2 separate regions of the Homo sapiens genome follow, and region 1 is linked to region 2. The links are contacts of gene promoters, found by promoter capture Hi-C in blood cells and fetal thymus (Javierre and others, 2016). All regions are on one chromosome and are shown on one strand. Each heading gives the region's core, a stretch centred on a gene start or on the middle of the fragment in contact. The rest is flanking DNA. Distances are from core to core; before and after follow the strand shown.

The links. Contacts are between HindIII fragments. The CHiCAGO score rates a contact against its expected background, and 5 or more counts as called.
Region 1: a fragment that was not itself captured here is called in contact with the fragment with the promoter of PPP1R9A in region 2 in 1 of 17 cell types (M2 macrophages); the score reaches 5.3 in M2 macrophages.

Annotation. Positions count from the first base shown.
Region 1 is chr7:94,442,967-94,449,402 of GRCh38, forward strand. No RefSeq gene overlaps it. Among named protein-coding and RNA genes, the nearest start is that of COL1A2, 51 kb to the left of the region's middle. The HindIII fragment of the contact is 2,249 bases long and covers 1,175-3,423 here.
Region 2 is chr7:94,904,516-94,910,169 of GRCh38, forward strand. It overlaps PPP1R9A (protein phosphatase 1 regulatory subunit 9A), which reads left to right and starts at 3,079. Exons shown (of 20, transcript NM_001166160.2): 1 at 3,079-3,187; 2 at 5,383-5,654. The coding sequence starts at 5,599. RefSeq lists an enhancer at 3,136-3,896. The HindIII fragment of the contact is 9,522 bases long and covers 1-5,654 here.

The DNA of each region.
Region 1 (6,436 bases), core at 1,049-3,548, 460 kb before region 2:
TTCACATGACTATGTGCAAATCCAACCCTCTGAACAGGTGTCATGGAAAGGTGTCTGCAAAAAACACCAAAAGGTTATTTTTCTAAAATCCCGTTTTATTGCCTTCTCTTCCAGTGAAGGCAACCCCCAGCTGGTTATTGGGAAGTCACATCCCCCTTCTTCCTATATCTTAGCATGGGAGTGATAAAATTGCCTGAAAGAAAGACACTACAATAGCATTAAGTCCATGTGCAAATATAATGACTGACCCTCATATCATATCTCAAGCGCAACAGTTGTCATAGCTTTATTTATAACAAAACATTGGAAATTAACCAAATGTCTAATAATAGTGGATTGGTTTAAGTAGATATGGTGCATCCATTTGATGGATTGCAATCCAGTATTTTAAATGTTCTCAAAATATACTTATAGAAGAAAATTAATAGCTATTTGCTAAAATAAACAAGTATAGATTACAGGGGAGTTGCATCCCATGCAGGAAGTTAGGTTTTAAAACCAGCACATAATGGAGAAAAAGTTTTGCATAATCAACATTACCCTTGAAAATCTCTAGGTTGAAGACCAAATACCATAACTTCCACACAGTTTTTCTTTTAGTATTAGAATACATGGCTGTTTCTGTGATTGTGCATGAAAGTTGTTGGCCTGAGTATAGACCATGTTATAAGAAAAATATGTATTTTTGCCATCAGAATCATAGTCACTGTAGCAAGTTGCACACACCATGTGAGACACACAGAAACTGGAATTGACTAAGAAAAAAGAAATTCCTATCCCCCATCTCATGCTTATTCCAAAGCATATATTCATGAGCTAAATGAAGAGAAATTTTAAAAATTTAATTAAATTATTGTCTGTCTCACACACAGAGAGAGTAAAATTCATCTAAGTTAATGTGTGCAGTGATTATCCATGTAAATCATTACATACAAGTTCAAGTTTGCTTAAAAATTTTTATTTTTTACAGATATGCATAAAAATTCAGAAAGGATGTATGTAAAAATATTAATAACCATTATCTCTAGTGAGGTGATGCATATTGCCAGGGTTTTTTCTTTAATCTGTCTGCATTTTTCAAAAAAACATAAACATATATTACTTTCATTATCAGAAGAAACTAGGATTATTTTTAACTAGCATTCACAAAACATAGATGGTATATTTAAAACTAAGCTTTATTGTATTATGAATGCAGGCTACATGTAGAACAATATATAGTTTTGATGTACAATTTCTGATTCAAATGAACAAGCACTTTGTTAAATTACTGCTAAACATTACGGAAACATGAGAACACATTATGACGCAGTATGTTTCAATCAACAAAATTTTATTCGTCTCCCTTGGTAAAGCAGTGTTATTAGGGACTATTGAACAGAACACGGAGACAGCCTCCTTATATTGAACTGGTTGTTAAAATACACCTGTCAAGGAAAAAAAGGTTCTGTCTAGATATGGATTATATAAATATACATAAAAAAATCTTTAGAAAATTGCCCTAGGAGGTCCTTTCTGAGTGTTTAGACATTCCTAATCTTTCGTGCTTCCGTGATATATTGTTAAAATATCTATTACAGCAATATTTTCTCTGCTTCATTCTCAAAAGATGCAGAGATGCATTCAGGTAATGAGGGAAATTTGTTACTGAAACACATATATCACTCTAGTAAGCCTGTTTTAATGATTGAAAAAAATATATGTCTCACATAGAAGGATTTTAAAGACAGGTTAGTTGAAATGGTTCTTTGATTATGTAAAATCACTGGTGGTTGATTCATTGTGTCAGATTTGAAATGAGATTAAATTGTAAGAGTAAGTTTTAAATTCTCTGCATTAAACTGAATTAATAAATTGAGCAAAGACATGATTCAAATAGGATTGAAAGGTTCTGCTAAAACCAGACTGTTTAGGTCCATTAGCAACCAGCTAAGAAAGAATATCTTATCAGAAAACAGCGTAGGCTGTGGAAAATTAATAGTGCTAGACCCAGTCTTGGTGTAGAATTACATGGAAGGGATTAGGAAGTGAGGGGAAGGTAATTAAGTAGAAAGAACAGCCGGAAAGAACTGAAAAGCCAAAGATCAGATGGTCCTCAAGTTGAGCCCCTCACCATCTGTTGGCAATCATCAAAATTTATTTGATCTTATTGTATATTTACTCTGTGAAAGGAAAAGAATAAAACCTCATTCTAATGAATGAATAGGTGAGATCAAGGAGAATACCCATTATAACAGAGCTCATTATTATAGCAAGTAAAATCATTCCCATTGCAACATAACAAATACAATTAATATAATCTAATTGTTACATCTTTGTCCATGTCCCTAATATGAGCTTCATAAAAAGATTCTCATGTTTTCCTGGCCCTTTGTGATTTAGTTGGAGCACTTTGTTTATAATTTTGCTGTCATTGTTTATTGTATGTTTGTCTATACAATTGCTCTTATAAAATTGCTGAGTGACTGCATGCATGCATCAGGAAAAGTAGGTCAATCAGCCACTTAATGTTTCCTCTTCTAATCTGCATTAGCACCTGTGATTTCAGTATCAGCTAAAGGGGTTACTACTATTTACCCAGTTATACAAAACAGAAAATACAATTCTTTCCTCTCCTTTACCTCTGGTTCTCACATCCAATCAACTACCATATCCTCCTAAATGTTTTTCTATAGCTTTACTTCTTTAGCCTTTGTTTTTGGGGCTTCCTCCCTTCTTTTTCGGCAGTACTGCAACTTTTCACTTCAGCCTTTCACCTTAACTAGTTACTACCTGCCTCTTTTCTCGTTCCCCTCAAATCCATCTTCCATTACACAGAGAAAACACAACTCTGACCTTTCAACTCCCTGTTAAAAGATTCCTGTTTCCACAGCACTTGCAGGATAAAGTCCAAAGGCATTTGTGTAGTATGGGAAACCCTTAACCACAGTGTCCCCTGACTATTTCAGCTCTCTAACTCTTTTCTCCCATCTCACAGTTTATGCCCTCCAGCAAAACCAGAGAGTAATTTATAAAGCAACTACCAATAAATAATTAAGCAATTTTTATTATAATCAACTCATGACATGCCTCAGGGATGAGTATTTCTATTCATTCTTAGGTCTGTGCTATGCATTAGTATTTAAAAATTAGCTGCTGGGGTTTTAGACTGTGAGCCTTGCAAGGAAGGCAGACCAAACTATACAGCCAGCTATCACATGGGAGCATCTGTGCAAGACGTCTCTGCACAGCTCAGCAAGACAAGCAGATACATCATCATATCTCTGAATACATATTAGTATTGCCCACCAGTCAAGCAGTATGCAGCTTCACAGGAGAGCTGTGTATTTTCCTTTATTAAAAAATGATTGAGACTGTCATTCTTTGCCTAGTGCCATCTTTCACATACCTAGCAGCACACTTTTAACATGCCGGATATTTGAAAGCTTTATCAGAAAAGGCTGGCTGCCTCATATCAAGTGTTTAATTTAGTTCTGAAGTCTCTTGAGAAAAATGAATTGATGTCAGATTTTTAATTTTAAAGTTACATTTGCATTGCAGATGGACTATTTAACAGTTCACGTAATCAATAAATTTAATACTTCAGCACAGGACATGTTAACGAGAGACGGTAGGATCTAAATTAGTGGTTTCTTTTGAAAATTCACATCATGCTTGCTTGCTTGCTTACTTAAATCTGTTAATCATAAGAAATCACCGTCTTGTAATGAAAAAATAAATAGCTGAATGTTTCCACAAAGTAGTCAGCTTCTTGGACATGATATTCATTTCTTTTTAGGGACTAACATATCTTGATAAGTAGTAATATTCTACCCCACTCACCCCTCCCTACCAACCTTGCAAAGAATGTGCAGATCCAAACTTTTAAAACCTGTTTAAAATGCTATTTCATAACTGTGCCAAATGCTAGCGAACAAATATTTTTAAATGTATTGGGTATTGTATTAAAAGTAATTAATGGCAAAAACCGCAATTACTTTTGAACCAACCGTACAAATGGGCACTGAGCTAGTAAAAAGTGAATATTTTGTGTTTTAAAATTATTCATGTTTCTTTTTATAAACAATAAACTTGTTTTATTGAACAGCATTATACATTTTTATCAGCTTTATTGAGATATAATTGGCATAAACTGCACATATTTAATGTATACAATTTGATGTGTATGATATATATGTGTAGGCTTTATGATTTCTAGTTAAAAAGTTAGAAATGAATGAAGAAGAAAACTATCCACTATATTCACAGTACTATAATCACAATTAAAACTTTAGAACATGCCCTTCCAAGTTTTTAAAATCTATTCATATACACATACGAATAAAATAGACATGTGCTTCCATTTCTACCAAATTGTGAACAAGCTGCATATATTAGGTTGTGTTTTTTTGTGTTTTTAACTAAAGTTTTCATAAATGTTTTTTCGTATTACTAAGTATCTTTCTAAAGATAATTTTTAATGTATACATATATCACATACATTTTTATCTGTAGTGAAATAATCACAAAATGAATGATGAAGAAAATAATCACCTATAGCCACCTATAACCACTACTTAAACCATAAAAACATAACCATATAAGTAACCATGCATATAATCACTATTAAAATTCTAAAATATGTTTTAATACACATATGAATTTTAAATATATGTAATTATATATACACACACTTTCATTTTTACTAAAATATTAATCAAACTATATGTATTATTTTATACCCCGATTTTAAAGAAAATTTAATAAGCAGTTTGTATACTTGCAATTTTTTTTACAAAAAGTTTAAAAAATACAGAAATGAATGAAGCCAATTATCACCAATAACTCAAGTAATACAGATAATCACTATTTAAACTTTGGAATATATACTTCTGGACAGATATAGAAAAAACCATTTTATTATTAAATTCTATTTTTAATTTAAATTTTATATGAGCATTTTTCCATGTTATTATATATCTTCTTAAGAAATAATTTTAAGCAGCAGAATAGTTTTATAACATGAAGTACTTTTGATAACATTGGATATAATAAAATCTTTTAAATCTTGGCCAATTTTATAGCAAAACTTTTCATTTTTAAAAAACATACAATCTTTTGATTAGTATTGAAGTTAAATGTGTTTTTCAAATGCTCATAGACCATTTTAAATGATGTCTTATTTATTTTGTCCATTCTGTATGCTATAAATAATTTTTCCATTTTATCATTTCCTTTTATGGCAATTTTCATGCACATATGTTTTCCTTTATATTTTTTCTTCATAATTTTTTTCTTTGCCTTTTTGCTTAAGCTAAATATTCACTTATATGATTTTTTTTTTTTTTGTAGAGATGGAGTCTTGCTCTGTCACCCAGACTGGAGTTCAGTGGTGCGATCTCTGCTCACTGCAACCTCCACCTCTCCTGTTCAAGCAATTCTCCTGCCTCAGCCTCCTGAGTAGCTGGGACTACAAGCGCACACTGCCATGCCTGGCTAATTTCTTTTGTATTTTAGTAGAGACAGGGCTTCACCATGTTGCCCAGGCTGGTCTCAAACTCCTGAACTCAGGCAATCTGCCCGCCTCAGCCTCCCAAAGTGCTAGGATTACAGGTGTGAGCCACCATGCCCAGCCTCACTTATATGTTTTAAAGTTTATTTAATTTTGAATTTGAATTTTTAACATCTGGGATTTATTTGTTATATAATGTAAGGTGACCAAGCATCCTTGTACACGGATTTGAAATTACATCTTTATCACATAATAAATTCTTATGTATGCATTTGAATTTAAAATTTGTGCTAGTGAAGTGATGAAAGCTGCAGTTCAATCTCTAAGCTTTTGTTCCTTTTGTATCTGTTTAGTTAAATGTGGCATTGATTTAGGGTGATACTTTTTCTTTTTTAACACTCCATAAAGCACCAAAGATACATTTAAATTTATATACATACATGTAACTATTTTTCTTCTTTAGGTTTATATTTTCTTTTAAAGCAATACAAGCTTTTTGTAGGAAAAATGTAAGTAAAATTGTAAGGAAGCAGAAAAATTATTTTGATCTCTTTTAATCAACAATAACCACTGATAACACTTTGGCATATTTAGTTTTACAACTTTTTTCACTTTTTCTTCTTTGTGGAGGATACAAGAGATGTAAATAAAGGTCTTTAAATGTTTTCATAATGATGATTGTTTTATGCTTCCAGTAGAACATTAACTTGATTTGTAATAATGAAATTTTTAATCCTCCTAATGGGATTTGAAACATATTTCTTAAAGAACCTAAATGTACAAACTCATATTCTGAAAACAAAAAAACAAATGTTTTTTAAAATTACTCATTAAAATGGAAATTCTCTATTTTCACCAGTGGGTGGCAATCTCAACATATACACTGTTTGGTATTTTCGACAGAACTGTTTATTGCAAAGGGGAAAGCTACCTAAAATGTCTGAC
Region 2 (5,654 bases), core at 1,829-4,328:
GCATGTCCAAGCCATGAGTGTAGGTAGAAAGCCATGCTGAATCATTATCAATTTATTGGGGTAGAAATGACACCTTTAATGTTAATTTTATAGCTAACATCACAAAATAAGACTGATCATAGATATCTTTGAATCTGAATGTGAGCCTGAGGACTATTTTAGAGAAGTATATTCTACCTCTATGATGGAGTTTGTGTGAAATATTATAAGACTCAAAAGTAAACTTAAACTTTTATCCTCAAATACAGATATTTATTTTAAAGAGACCTTTAAGAAAATTGAATATCAACATTCAAGACTGAAGTCAACAAAGCATTCTGTGATACTTACAAATGTGAAATAAGTAGTTATAATTAAACTTTTAATTAAAAAGCTGCCTCGTCACTATCAAAACATTATGCATATCGGTAAGAAAACAGTGGTATGAATAACATGTCCTTTTACGCTACAATTATGTGTAAAATTACCTACTGAAATTGCTCTCCCATTACTTTGCCTTCTCCATAAAGAAGTTAAGTCTAGAGACCTTTTAGTTTGTTCTGGTCTTTTCTCTCCCTTCAGGAACTTCCATTAGTACACAACCAGCTAGGTATCTTCCTGTTAGAAATGAAAGTGTGATGGGCAGTCTTTAGTACCAGCTTAGCCAGTTTTCCCTAGTCTTAAAATTTGATTCAGGCTTAGTTTGGGCTTAATTTCACAGCTGCACCCAATGATTCACATACACACATGAATAACTTAATTCTTTGAATAGTTCTTAGAATGTCCATCACGAAAACTTAAAAATACATTGAGAAAACCCCTAAAACAATATAGAATATACTTTGTACTTTTTGTTTATCCTCTAACCTTGTGACCACATGGTTAATACTAATCATGGTATTATTGGTTGCAAAGGAAATGAAAATAACAGCCCACAATATTCTATATAATTTATGAAAGGTTAAGGTATCATATATGAAAACTGAGAACTCCCCCACCCCAAACACATTTTGGATTTTTTGCATGTCAGTAATGAAGTTCACTTTTCACCACCTTTCCAGTTGGAACATATAAAATGTATGACCTCTAATGCCTAATACATTAATGATCTATTGAACTAAGTTAACCCTTATAAAGTTCATAGAAGTGAAAATGTGGTCTAGAACAACACTGTTTGATAGAACTTTCTGTGATGGAAATGTTGCGTATCTACACTGTGCAACAGAGTGGCCACTAGGCACATGTAGCCATCAAGCCTTTCAAATGCGGCTTGTGTGACTAAGGAACTGAATTTTAAATTGTATTTAATTTTAATTAAAGTTAAATAGCCGCATGTATTGGATTAGCAGTCTAATAGACCCTTCAAACATTCAAGTAAGTGTTGGAAATGGAAGGTCCATTATAGGAAATCTAGGAATCTTAAATTCTCACCATCGGGTTTAAAACTCTATCATTCCTTCAGTATGAACTTTTCCAGAAGTTTCAGATTTTCAAAAGATAAAACTCAAACCAACCAAATCCTTTAGGGTGCTTTTCTGTATGAATCATCTTTCTGCAAAGAGGTGTAAGACTGTCTTTATTGCCAACTCTGCCCCCTCTTCTACAGACAGAACTCAGTGATTAGATTCTGCATTTATTTAGGTTATTCGCCTAAAAAACCTGGTTTCCATACTGCAAATAAATGACAGGAACTTTTCCACTAGATTATCCCAGACAGCAGAAATGTTCTTTCCAAAAGTGGAGCCTGGAACCACAGCCCCCTCACATTGCCTGTTACATCTGTTTATGCTTATAGAAGTGACATCCACTTCGTAGACAGAGAATGCCAATTTCTTGGGAAAGGACCCAGAATTTGGTGATGCTTAAAGGAAAAAAAAGCCCTTGCTGCTTAAAATTAAAAAATACATAGAACTGAGTATTGAGTAGTTACAAAATCCTTCTGAAATGAAAAGATTTTGCTCCCAGAGTATATAGAATTTGTGTACGGACTTGCCTGGGTTCATATTCAGCCATAATCATTTACTATTAATAGCCAATAAAGAAGCGGGTAAGTTACAAAACCTAAACCTTAGTTTTTCCATCAGTGAAATGGGGCTAAAAATAGTTATGTTGGGAAAACTTGTGAAAGACTTTGAAATGAGCAAAAGATTACTGTTTGTCCTTTCAATGGAATGCTGGATGTTATCTACAGGACTCCGGAGTGTTGTGAAATTTACAGTCGTCTGCACCTTACTTAGACTGACTTTCACTAGGCTATTTTACTACTCAGTAAGCTGTAGAAACGTTTGGTAATGTAAATGAGTTTTATCTACAGAATGCAAATTTGTTACTTTACAGATACAACTGGTTACCGCCCTGTAAAGCAGATAATAATAAACATTACATTTCAGTGCTCTATAGAATAGTAAGCAGATTTGCCTCTTCTTGCCTCTATGTCTACTCTTCACAGTCTCACGTGAATGGGTTGCAGTATCTTGCTGGGGTTCCCTTCCTAATTAAAAGAGTTATAAAAATTTTGACCAATGTTCATTTTATATTTCTACCATTGTCATGTTTTTACCTTCTTGAAAAATTATTTTTTAAGAGTTCCTGCTCCCTAGGCTTTTTGGAAGGATTGGTTTAAACATCTGTATTGACAGTCATGATCAGTTTTATATCTTGCAGGAAGGTGGTAACACTTCCGGTACTTGGGGGTGTAAGAGGTTGTACTGAGCCTTTAGAAAAGGGCGGGGTTCGGGGGGGAGTGAGCTGAAAAACTCTCCCTAGACAGGAAAGGTAGAAGACCTCCTCATCCCTTTCTCTTTGGCAGTGAGATCTTAAGGTCAAGGTGAGTAGTAGGCCAGGCGCAGTGGCTTAGGTGAAGGCCACACCAGACTTGGGCCTACGTCTTGGCCTTCCAGGTCAGCAGAGTGGCCTGGGACTTGGATGCCTTGGGGTCACGGAGTTAACTGCAGACTCAGACTAAGTGGGGCCCCAGCAGCGGTCAGCCCCAGAACCAAGTTCCGGAGCCAACACCCGAACAGGAAGGGGCCTTGCCCCAGGCCGGAGAGGCCCCTCGCCCACGGCCGAGGGGGTGGGGCGGCCTCGCCTCGGGCCGGTGCTTTTCGCCCTTCCTTGGCCGCCAGAGGCTCCCTCTCTCTCCCTCTCCCGGGATTTTGCTGCCGGGCTCCCTCTCTCTGCGGCCCTAGAGTTAATCCCATCAGCCGAGGTGAGGCACCTGTTACCCCGGCCTTCCTCACCCCCGCGGCCTCTCCTCCATTACACCGCGGCCGCCGAAACGGCCCGGCGTGGCGACCGCACGTGGGCCAAACCCCTTCCCCGGCCGGCACCCCTGGCCCCAGGCCGGCCCGAGCGTGCGGGCGCGTCGCTGCTCGGGCCGCCGCCCGCCCGCAATGGCGTTGGGGAGCGCAGCGCGCCTCCCGGGGCCGCCCGCCGCGGGCAGGGAGCGCCTGGGGGCCGACGCGCGAGTGGAAGCGGCCGCCGCAGCCGCCCTACGCGCTGCGCCGTGAGGAGCGGGTTGCGGTGTACCCAGCGGGCCGGCGCCGAGCCGAGCCGCCGCGTCCACCGTGGGGCGGGGGGCGCCTGCGAGGAGGGGGTGGGAGCCGCGGCGGCCCGACCCTCCCCGCCCGCGGCGCTCCCGCTCGGGTAAGGGGGAGGCTGAGCGCGGGGCGAGGAGTTGGGGAGGGTGGAGAGGAGGAAAAAATCGGCTTGTACAAAGGCTGAGTTGCAGGCTGGGGGTGGGGGTGGGTTGTGGTGGAGGAGCAATAGGTTGAAGATCGGAGGCATTATCAGTGGGATCTATTGTTTCCTGGCACATTGGGAGGAAAAACAAAGGGATTTATTTTCATTACCCTGTAATTTTTTTTCTTTTCTATTTTTTTAAATGTGGCCAGGGAGCTCGTCTCTCTCCGTGTCACAGTGGGATCCGCCTGGCAGCCGCCGGGAGCTGCAGCCAATGTGTTAGGACTTCAGGTGCTTCTTGGCACAAAGCTAGACTGCGACCTCCTACCATAGCGCTTGGCGTCACCTGCTCTCCCGGTCCTGCCCCAGGGCCGAGGGATTGCGTCCCGAACCGGGCTTGGGAATCGGCTGCCTCTCAAGTTGGTGTTATTTATGTTTGTCTTTTGTGAGGGCAGGTTTTGAATCCCCCGGCGGCCCCATCTCCCCCGCCCCCGCCTCCTTGGGTTGGAATTGGCGGGGGAGGGAATGGGGGGTGTGTGTAGGGGAGAGGGGAGGGTGTTTGTGGCTTTAAAAAGAATGGTCAGGGTAAAAGGAGATTGTCGATGCTTTACAAAAAAAGAAAAAAACAGGCACCACACTCCAAAGCCTTTCTTGTTTGTCTGCATGGGCCATGCATGCGTGCTGGGCCAGGAGCCGAGTTTGGAGACGGTTTAAGTGAAAGTGTGTGCCTCCTCAGCTGATTGTGCGTGAGGGTGATGTGGCTCGGTCTAATATCAAAACAAAACAAAAATAAAATGAAAAATCTTTAGAACTGCCTGCATTGTCTGCTCCTCAGCATATCTTGAAGTATTTGATTGCTGGCTTATTGATATAAAATCCTGCTGTGGGCTTAAAGAGACCAGCAAGCATGCATTGCGTTGCGTGTTGAACTGTAGTAAGTTAGAGGCAAGAAAGAATAAACAAATCAGGGCTGTGAAAAGGGGTGTCACAGTATATTTGCTTTCTGATTGTCACATTCTTACGCATTTATTCCCTTGGTAGTCTGCATCCCACTCCATAATTAATAATAACCACTGTTAGGAAACTTCCAAATACTTGTTATAACTGAACTTAGTGAAACTTATTGCTATTCAGGAACTTTTTTTCTCCTTGTTTTGATCTGAAATTGCATTAGTATTGCTTTGGGGATGCTGTAGATGAGAACATTGGACCAAAAAAAGTAAAATATGCCGCTGTAGGCATGTTTTGGAGTTTGTAAACATAGATTCCAAACTTAATTGTACTTAGAAAGAATAAGTTCTACCTAATTGTGGAGAATCCTAAATGAAGTTGATTTTCTGGACAGTTTGATGATTTCTTAAAGATCGATGAACTGCTGGTTTCTTTTTAAAGGGCATTCACAAAAGCGACCAAAACTTGGGCTAAAGTATTGCTTTCAAATATACTTATGTGTAGCTTGTATTTGTGAGTGTGTGTATGTGTTTGTGTGTGTGTGAGATTTTGATAGGTATCTCCAAATTGTGTTTGGAACTTTTTTTTTTTTTTTTTTACCAAAGACCAATCAGAATGATAACTTTTTGACTTTTAACTTCCCATTTCAATGAGTAATCTCTTCTGTTTGCCACGTGGCTAAGCCATTTGGAAAAAAAAATGTATGTTATTTGACTAGACATAAATTCAAATAAGTAAATGAATTCAGAAATTCATTCTTTTCTATTGCAGATGAACCTCTAGTCTTGCTTTGAAAAAATCATTCTGTGTAACTCTTGACTGTGACTAAGTTCCTAATACACCTGTTGGGACGATCACTGACACCGTATACCATTTGAGAGGTACTTTTCTTGACCCAATACTGGTGATTAGAGAAGAGAGGTATCTTGGTTTTTGGTTTTTTTCTTTGATCATTATGAACATTGGCTTTTCACCCCTGAAGTGAAAATGTTGAAAACTGAGTCTTCAGGTGAACGAACCACTCTCAGAAGTGCCTCTCCTCA